Regions from separate parts of the Homo sapiens genome. Here region 1 is linked to region 2. Evidence: promoter capture Hi-C in 16 types of primary human blood cells and fetal thymus (Javierre and others, 2016). All regions are on one chromosome and are shown on one strand. Each heading gives the region's core, a stretch centred on a gene start or on the middle of the fragment in contact. The rest is flanking DNA. Distances are from core to core; before and after follow the strand shown. Region 1 overlaps SDCCAG8 (SHH signaling and ciliogenesis regulator SDCCAG8). Region 2 holds the start of SPMIP3 (sperm microtubule inner protein 3).

Region 1 (4,211 bases), core at 498-2,997, 960 kb after region 2:
CTGCTTAATTTATTCATGAAAGGAGTACAAGAAAAAAATGAGCTTAACTTTGAAATGGAAACTTTAGGCTAAAAATTCTTGAATAAAACTCAGGAGGAAAAAAAAGATAAAGTTCACTGTAAAATAGCAAGAATATACATCAATGTTATAATATCCTCTTCAAATAAACAGATAATGAGTTTGGCTTTTTGACCTAAGCTTGTTGTTATCTTAAGATGAGTTCCCCCCAACTTTTTGTTTTAATTTTCCCAATAATAAAGAGCAAAGGGAACTTTACTCAATGTTTATAGAAAATCTGCTAAACACCCAGTGCCTGACTTGGTGCTGGGGGCACAGAGATGAAAGAGACCTGCTTCCTGGTCTGGGTGCTGAGATTTTACAACACCAAAAGTGTTTCTATCTCAGTTTGAAACAAGCTTTTGCCCTTCATCCCCTGCCTACTCTCCTCCCTCCTGGATGCCCAACCTCAAGCTTCCCCTTCGGAGGCTCGGCTTCCTCATCTATAAAGGACTGTTTTTTCTTAGGCTTGCTGGAAGCAGTGAGAAGCATAGCATCTCAAGCTTCTTGTGGTAAATGATCAGCATATTTGTTTTAATTTCTAATCTTTTGCAAATAGTTTTTTAAAACACAATAAAAATGAATTACTAGAAAAAAATTTAAAAGATACTCCCCCAAAAAAAGCTCATTGATCATGCGCTTGAAAATTGTGACAATTTAAAATTGATATAAAATTTGCCAAATACTTCTGTAGATTCCGGTACTTATCTTGCCATAGACACTAACAAGCAGCCATCATGGGCCACAGCTGGAACAGCACTATGCAGAAACCAAGCACAATACATGTGCATGCTAGAGATTTAGCTGTGCTTCTTTCTTTTTATATTCTAAGAGTTTTCTAAGTAAAACAACAAAGAGACCCTGTTGTTGTGAAGAACTGATGATGCCTCTTTGGACTTATCACATGTTGACAATGGAGAATATCATTTTCCAACATACATGGACAAAAATGTGCACTTCACTCCCCTCTCTCCACTTGAAACCATTTCTTAGAGGAAAAATCAGGACTTGCATTTTTATTTATTATTTTTTTTTTGGGGGGGGGAGGGGGGACAGAGTCTCGCTCTGTCGCCCAGGCTGGAGTGCGATGGCAATCAAAGCTCACTGTAGCCTTAAACTCCCAGGCTCAAGCAGTCTTCCCAAGTAGCCAGGACTACAGGCACGCACCACCACGTAGCCTCCCAAATAGCCAGGACTCAGGCACGCACCACCACGTAGCCTCCCAAATAGCCAGGACTCAGGCACGCACCACCACGTAGCTTCCCAAATAGCCAGGACTCAGGCACGCACCACCACGTAGCCTCCCAAATAACCAGGACTCAGGCATGCACCACCATGTAGCCTCCCAAATAGCCAGGACCCAGGCACGCACCACCACGTAGCCTCCCAAGTAGCCAGGACCCAGGCGCGCACCACCATGTAGCCTCCCAAATAGCTAGGACTACAGGCATGCACAACCATGCCTGGCTAATTTTTTAATTTTTTTTTTTTTTTTTTGGTAGAGCTGGGGTCTCATTATGTTGCTCAGACTGGTCTTGACCTCCTGGCCTCAAGTGATCCTCCCACCTTGGCCTCCCAAGGTGCTGGGATTACAGGCATGAGCCATGGCACCTGACCAGGGATTATATTTTTAAAAAGACAACAAGGGCAACAGTGCAGATACTTGGTGTTTTACTCACCCAGGATCCCTGACACCTTTCCCCTAGTAAGAGCACTTCCCCTTACTTAGTGAAACTTTCTTCCCTTATTCCATGTGGTTCTGAAGAGGCTACCAGCCACAGCACCCAAAAGTGCGTGTGTGTGCCCAAGGGTGATCCTAACCAAAGGTTTTGAAATTGGAAGTGAAGGAGCTAGGAAGTCACATTCTTACAGTTTGAAATCAAAGGTATTTCCTTTATCATCAATTTCAGAATGAAAGATGTTTTACTTCATGGTATGAAAGAATCTGAAAGAATTAGCAAAATTCAGATAGAAATTGAGCCCTGTTCTGGAAAGTTAGAATATGATAGCATGCTGGCTCCAGGAAACCCTGAGTCCAGCTGCACCTGGATTGTACATGGTCTAGTTATAAAAATTTATCAATTTCTCCTTTTTGGATTTCAGTTCACCCAAAAAGTCCTGACTCGTATGGATAGGCTGGGAGGTCAAACAATTAATTTCAAGAAAATATCTGTACTAGAGGCCGGGCACAGTGGCTCACACCTGTAATCCTAGCACTTTGGGAGGCTAAGGCAGGCAGATCACCAGAGGTCAGGAGTTTGAGACCAGTCTGGCCAACATGGTGAAACCCCGTCTCTACTAAAAATACAAAAATTAGCCAGGCATGGTGGTGCCTACCTGTAATCCCAGCTACTTGGGAGGGTGAGACACGAGAATTGCTTGGACCTGGGAGGCAGAGGTTGTAGTGAGCCAAGACCACACCACTGCACTGCAGGCTGGGCAACAGAGCAAGACTCTTGCTTCAAATTAAAGAAACAAATAAGTAACTGTACTAGTTACTATGTGGAAACTGAAAGCCCTGGAAAGGCAGCCTCTATCACTCTCCCCACATGATCTATCCATCATAACAGGTTAACCTAGTGACTCCTCTGCTGTACCCTTTTCTCACTTTCAAAAAGACACAAATCCTATAGGTCAAGTTGCTGTCTCTCTAGGTCACAGGTCAGATCTTCCCATCTGGATCACAAAAGTAGGTCACAGTATAATACCTGTTTGGTGGACTCTCACTTAGATTCCTGCTCTGAGAAATTCTTTGAAGTACATACATATTATTAAAAAGATCATTTATGTAAAAGGAGAAATAAGAATTTTTAAGGTTTTGTACTTAGGGCAATCCGAGTTCTAAATTCTCTGGATAATAAACAAAAGAAAGCTTCCTGCAGTAGTTCCCCTCAAGATCAGATACAAGAAAAAAAAAATGCAGGATTTAAAAAAATGTGTTTCAGTACATGGGCAAAAGGTATGGAAAAGAATGTCTCAGTAAGCAGTTAATAAGAATCACATAAACGGTAAGAAGTGGTTGCTTTATTCAGCCATATCGTAAATTAACCCAACCACGTGTGTATAAATGGTAGTCATATGAGCGGCATAAGCCACCGCCCCTGGCCTAAGATGAATACATTCTTAACCTCCGAGGTGATACCTATAGCTCTTTACAGATATTTGGACATGTCAAAAATAAATACTTGAAAAATTTCTACTTTTTAATAAAAGCCTCTCTTTCTTCTTGGGTGAAAATTAAGTAAGGGAGTAAAGTAGAATGACAATGGCATTATAATATGTTTAAATGACAATGGCAAATAATGGGCCAAGGGAAACTATGTTTCTTAGGAAAAATTCAAGCCAAAATTCACCGTCACGTGTCATGCATAAGGGAGCAGCTAACACTTCTTTCCTTTCTTTCTTTCTCTCTCTCTCTCTCTCTCTCACTTTCTTTCTTTTTTGAGATGGAGTCTCGCTCTGTCACCCAGGCTGGAGTGCAGTGGCGCAATCTCGGCTCACTGTAACCTCCACTTCCCGGGTTCAAGAGATTCTCCTGCCTCAGCCTCCTGAGTAGCTGGGACTACGGACGTGTGCCATCATGCCCAGCTAATTTTTTGTATTTTTACTGGAGACGGGTTTTTACCATGTTAGCCAGGATGGTCTTGATCTCCTGACCTCGTGATCCGCCTGTCTCGGCCTCCCAAAGTGCTGGGATTACTCCTGACCTCTCGCGATCTGCCTGCCTTAGCCTCCCAAAGTGCTAGGATTACAGGCGTGAGCCACCGCGCCCGGCCGGAAGAAGCTAACATTTATTTCTATTATAAATTCATGTTACTGATTTTCTAAGTTGTCTTTTTCAGAACAACTGCATTAATCCATTTCTCTAGTAATTTACATAGAATTACAGCTTAATGGATAAGGGTACAAGCTTTGCAGGCAACTTACTGGGGTTCAAAACCTGCTTCGATAACATATCAGCTGTGTAACCTTAGAAGACTCCTTTCCTTCTCTGTGCCTTAGTTGCCTCAGCTGTAAATTACAGAAAATAGGAGTCTGTACCTTATAGAGCTATTGGTAGGATTATATGAGAAGCTCTCAGCTTGGTTCCTGGAACAGCAGGGGCTCAGCAAATGTTAGCCACTGCTGTTAGCTATAACTCTATTATTTTTTAA
Region 2 (3,914 bases), core at 1-2,500:
AGCCTGTGCGATGAGAGGCTGTTTAGAAGAGGGCTCGCAGCAATGAGTTACTTTGATAGTCCCCTGTTGCTTCTGTTTTCTCAGGCAGGCAGTTTTCCCAGTTCAGGAAGGTTGGTTCCCTTCTCCCCTGACTCTCACCAGTTCTGTAATGAATTCTGCTGCCTGAATACTCTTTCTTTTTTCCTTCTCTAGCCTAAATTAAGCCCATTCTTCAGGGCTTTGTTCAGGTCCTACATACGTTCCCTAGGAGGCCTCTCTTCTGAGTTTCAAATGGCCCATTTCCCTCCTGTGAATTCCCAGAGCCCCTGGGAGATTCTCCTACGCATTTTGGTTCTGAGTCCTTTCCTTTTTGGTTTATTGGTTTCTGAATTGATTTATTCATTTTATTATTTAAGAAAAATTAGTGACAACTCTCCACCAGGCTTTGGATAAGGTTCTAGAAATTCTTCAAACAACGAGACATCTGGGTTTTTTGTTGTTGTTGTTGTTGTTTGTTTTCTTAAACAGAGACAGGACCTTGCTACGTTGCCCGGGCTGGTCTCAAACTCCTGGGCTCAAGTGATTCTCCCACCTCGGCCTCCCAGAGTGTTGGGATTATAGGTGTGAGCCGCCACGCTTGGCCAAGACATCTGTTTTATACAGCACTTTGTCTCTTCAGGTAAAATGTGAGCTCCTAGATGTTGGGGACCACTTCGTTTGGTGGCCACGATCTTCACTCTCTTTGTCCTTCTCCTAACTCATTCTCTTGCAAAGTGTTCGCTGTCCAAGGAGTGCTTGATGCATACTTCAGAATGAGTGAATAAATCAATCGATCAGCTAACTCAGTAACCTGTTAATCTAGTTCACAGTTTTTAAAACCTAGGTCTTCTTGTATCACAGAGAACCAATTATCTTATTTAATATAGGTGTACCCGTTTCTAAGAAAAAAAAGACACGTTGAGTTAAAACTATGACAAGAATTCAAAGTTGAGAGAGATGAGTATTCACTTTCCAAAAGACATTTTTGCTTTACCAAAAGGCTTGCCATGAAGTTTCTTTATGTTGTGAGTTCCTGTCTCTAAAATATTTGAAATGCAGTCAACCATTTAGTAATGCAACCTCTAAATGAGGCGAGAGAGAGGTACAGGCAGTAACAACCAACCGCTATTACCTGCTTGGGCTGCCGTGGGCAGAGACCTCCTTGTTCTTAAAAGTACTCTGAGGACAGTGATGGGTACAGCTGCCTCCTGCTGCTGGATCAACTGCAGAGTGGCAGGGCCTGATTCCTTTACATCATTCAAAGGGTATTGTGACGCACACTGGCTTGCAAGGTTTTGCCAGGCAATGCCTTTCAGGTCCTGGGCTTAGAAAAAGAGTGCTCCTTTGGTCTCTAGGGAGAGACCAGCTGCACATGAAAGAAGGGGCAAAAATTACTGTGAAAAGGAAAATCATGTAGGCAAATAACCAGGCTATCTAATCACTAGAGCTTGCTTTCCTGTAAAGATTGTCCCAAGGACAACGTAAGGTGAAAATCTGGGTGGTGCCACACTGAGGAGTCCTGCCCTTTGCAAGCTGGAATTGAGGAAGGATGGTTTGGCACGAGGGGCAGATGAGGCCAGCCCCGCCTTGTCCAAGGTTAGGTCAGGCTCCAACCTGCTCCTTTGCAGGTATCAAAGGATAATTTTAATTATTTAAAAATATGCTGCAAACCAATCCATGGAGTATCACAACAGCACCACTATATAGAAGCAAGCCATAACCTGAGAAGAAGAGAGTGGCAAAAATATTTATTCTGACCAACCTCTGTCAAAACCAAACCAAACCAAAACGAAACACTGGCATTTTTTTTTCTTTTTTTTTTTTTGTGATGGAGTCTCTGTTGCCCAGGCTGGAGTACAGTGCCACAATCTCGGCTCACTGCAAGCTCTGCCTCCCGGATTCAAGCGATTCCCCTGCCTCAGCCTCCTGAGTAGCTGGGACTACAGGCGCGTGCCACCACGCCCGGCTAAGTTTCTGTATATTAGTAGAGACGGGGTTTCACCACGGCCAGGATGGTCTCGATCTCCTGACCTCATGATCCTCCCGCCTCGGCCTCCCAAAGTGCTGGGATTACAGGCGTGAGCCACCACACCCAGCCAACACTGGCATTATCTACAGTAGGTTGTCCTGGAAACAGGGACACTTCTCACTTATATACAGTTTGCAGGTTAGAATGTAAAATATTTCCATAAGATTCCAGAAGGCACTCAGGAGAGACCAGGGGCCAGGCTGGGTTCCTGCTGGGAGCTTAACCTACATGGAACAGGCATAAAATAATGTAATGACAGAGTCTTGGTGACAGCATTTTGTTGAAAGCAGATAAGCTAGGGAAAACTTAAATAAATATATGAGGACAGAAGCAACAAACTGGAACCACACTAAGAGAAAGGATAAATTGGTTTGATTTGTTGAGTGAGCACCACACGTTTTTTTAGCTATTAGACACACACCATCTAGAATCTCCACCACCACCATGGAAGGAGATTCTCTTTTGAAAATGAAGTATTTCTATTTGAAATGAAGGCTAAGAGAAGAAGCTACGGAACTTGCCTAACAGTCACACAACGAGGCCGTAATGAATCTATGATTTGAATCCAGCTATTTGACGTCAAAGGCGTTTTAAGAGTAATAACCAGTATTCTTCACTGAGGAAAAAAAATGAACAAAAAATCCCCATGTTCTTTACGTAAGACATACCTGGCAATATAACAGAAAGTACAAAGAAGAAAGTTTCACTCGCGTTCGTGTGAAGAGACAACCAAACAGGCTTTGTGTGAGCGATAAAGCTTTTTAATCAGCTGGGTGCAGGCCGTCTGAGTCCGAAAAGAGAGTCAGCAAAGGGGAGATAGGGGTGAGGCCGTTTTATAAGATTTGGGTAGGTAAAGGAAAATTACAGTCAAAGGGGGGTTGTTCTCTGGCGGGCAGGAGTGGGGGTGACAAGGTGCTCCGTGGGGGAGCTTTTTGAGCCAGGATGAGCCAGGAGGAGGAATTTCACAAGGTAATGTCATCGGTTAAGGCAAGGACCGGCCATTTTCACTTCTTTTGTAGTGGAATGTCATCAGTTAAGGCAGGAACAGGCCATTTAAATTTCACTTCCTCTGTGATTCTTCAGTTACTTCAGGCCATCTGGATATATACGTGCAGGTCACACCAGCAGGCTATCAGTAAAGTCCTCCTTACCGGTGGGAGGTGGAGTAGGGCTAGCCCCTGGCATTCTGTAGGGAAGCAAGTGTTAAAACTTTCACTTAAGCCGGGCGTGGTGGCTCACGCCTGTAATCCCAGCACTTTGGGAGGTCAAGGCGGGCGGATCACCTGAGGTCGGGAGTTCGAGACCAGCCCGGCCAACATGGTGAAACCCCCGTCTCTACTAAAAATACAGAATTAGCCGGGCGTGGTGGCGCATGCCTGTAATCCCAGCTACTCGGAAGGCTGAGGCAGGAGAATCGCTTGAATCCGGGAGGCAGAGCTTGCAGTGAGCCGAGATCGAGCCATTGCACTCCAGCCTGGGCAACAAGAGCAAAACTCCGTTTCAAAAAAAAAAAAAAAAAAGTTTCACTTACAGCACAAAAGGACAGAGTAGGAGGAGGAGGAAGCAACTGGCAGGTGCAGTTTCTCAGGCATTTGAGAGGTTGGAGAAGTCATTATGAGAGTAATGAAACTGGCTGGTTCCTGATGAGTACAATCTATGCTTTGCAGTAAGACGGTAAACATCATCATTAATTTAGGCAAAGTGTGAAAGCAGGGCTCCCCCTTTGCAGCATACAGAGGGGCTCTCATTTCCTGCAGCAGGGGGGCAGGAAAAGATGAGAATTAGACTAAGGATTTAAATATAAGGGTAGTGGGGCCCCCGAGAAGAACCTGGCAAATCTGCTCTGCCAACATCATGGCTGAGTTTG

What was found. Contacts are between HindIII fragments. The CHiCAGO score rates a contact against its expected background, and 5 or more counts as called.
Region 1: a fragment that was not itself captured here is called in contact with the fragment with the promoter of SPMIP3 in region 2 in 4 of 17 cell types (total B cells, total CD4 T cells, activated CD4 T cells and 1 more); the score reaches 7.0 in total B cells.

Annotation. Positions count from the first base shown.
Region 1 is chr1:243,386,042-243,390,252 of GRCh38, reverse strand. All of the region lies in intron 13 of SDCCAG8 (SHH signaling and ciliogenesis regulator SDCCAG8), which reads right to left. Among named protein-coding and RNA genes, the nearest start is that of MIR4677, 42 kb to the right of the region's middle. The HindIII fragment of the contact is 2,369 bases long and covers 563-2,931 here.
Region 2 is chr1:244,349,971-244,353,884 of GRCh38, reverse strand. SPMIP3 (sperm microtubule inner protein 3) reads right to left here and starts at 1,250. Exons shown (of 5, transcript NM_001012970.3): 1 at 1,151-1,250. RefSeq lists an enhancer at 3,241-3,300. The HindIII fragment of the contact is 3,357 bases long and covers 1-2,806 here.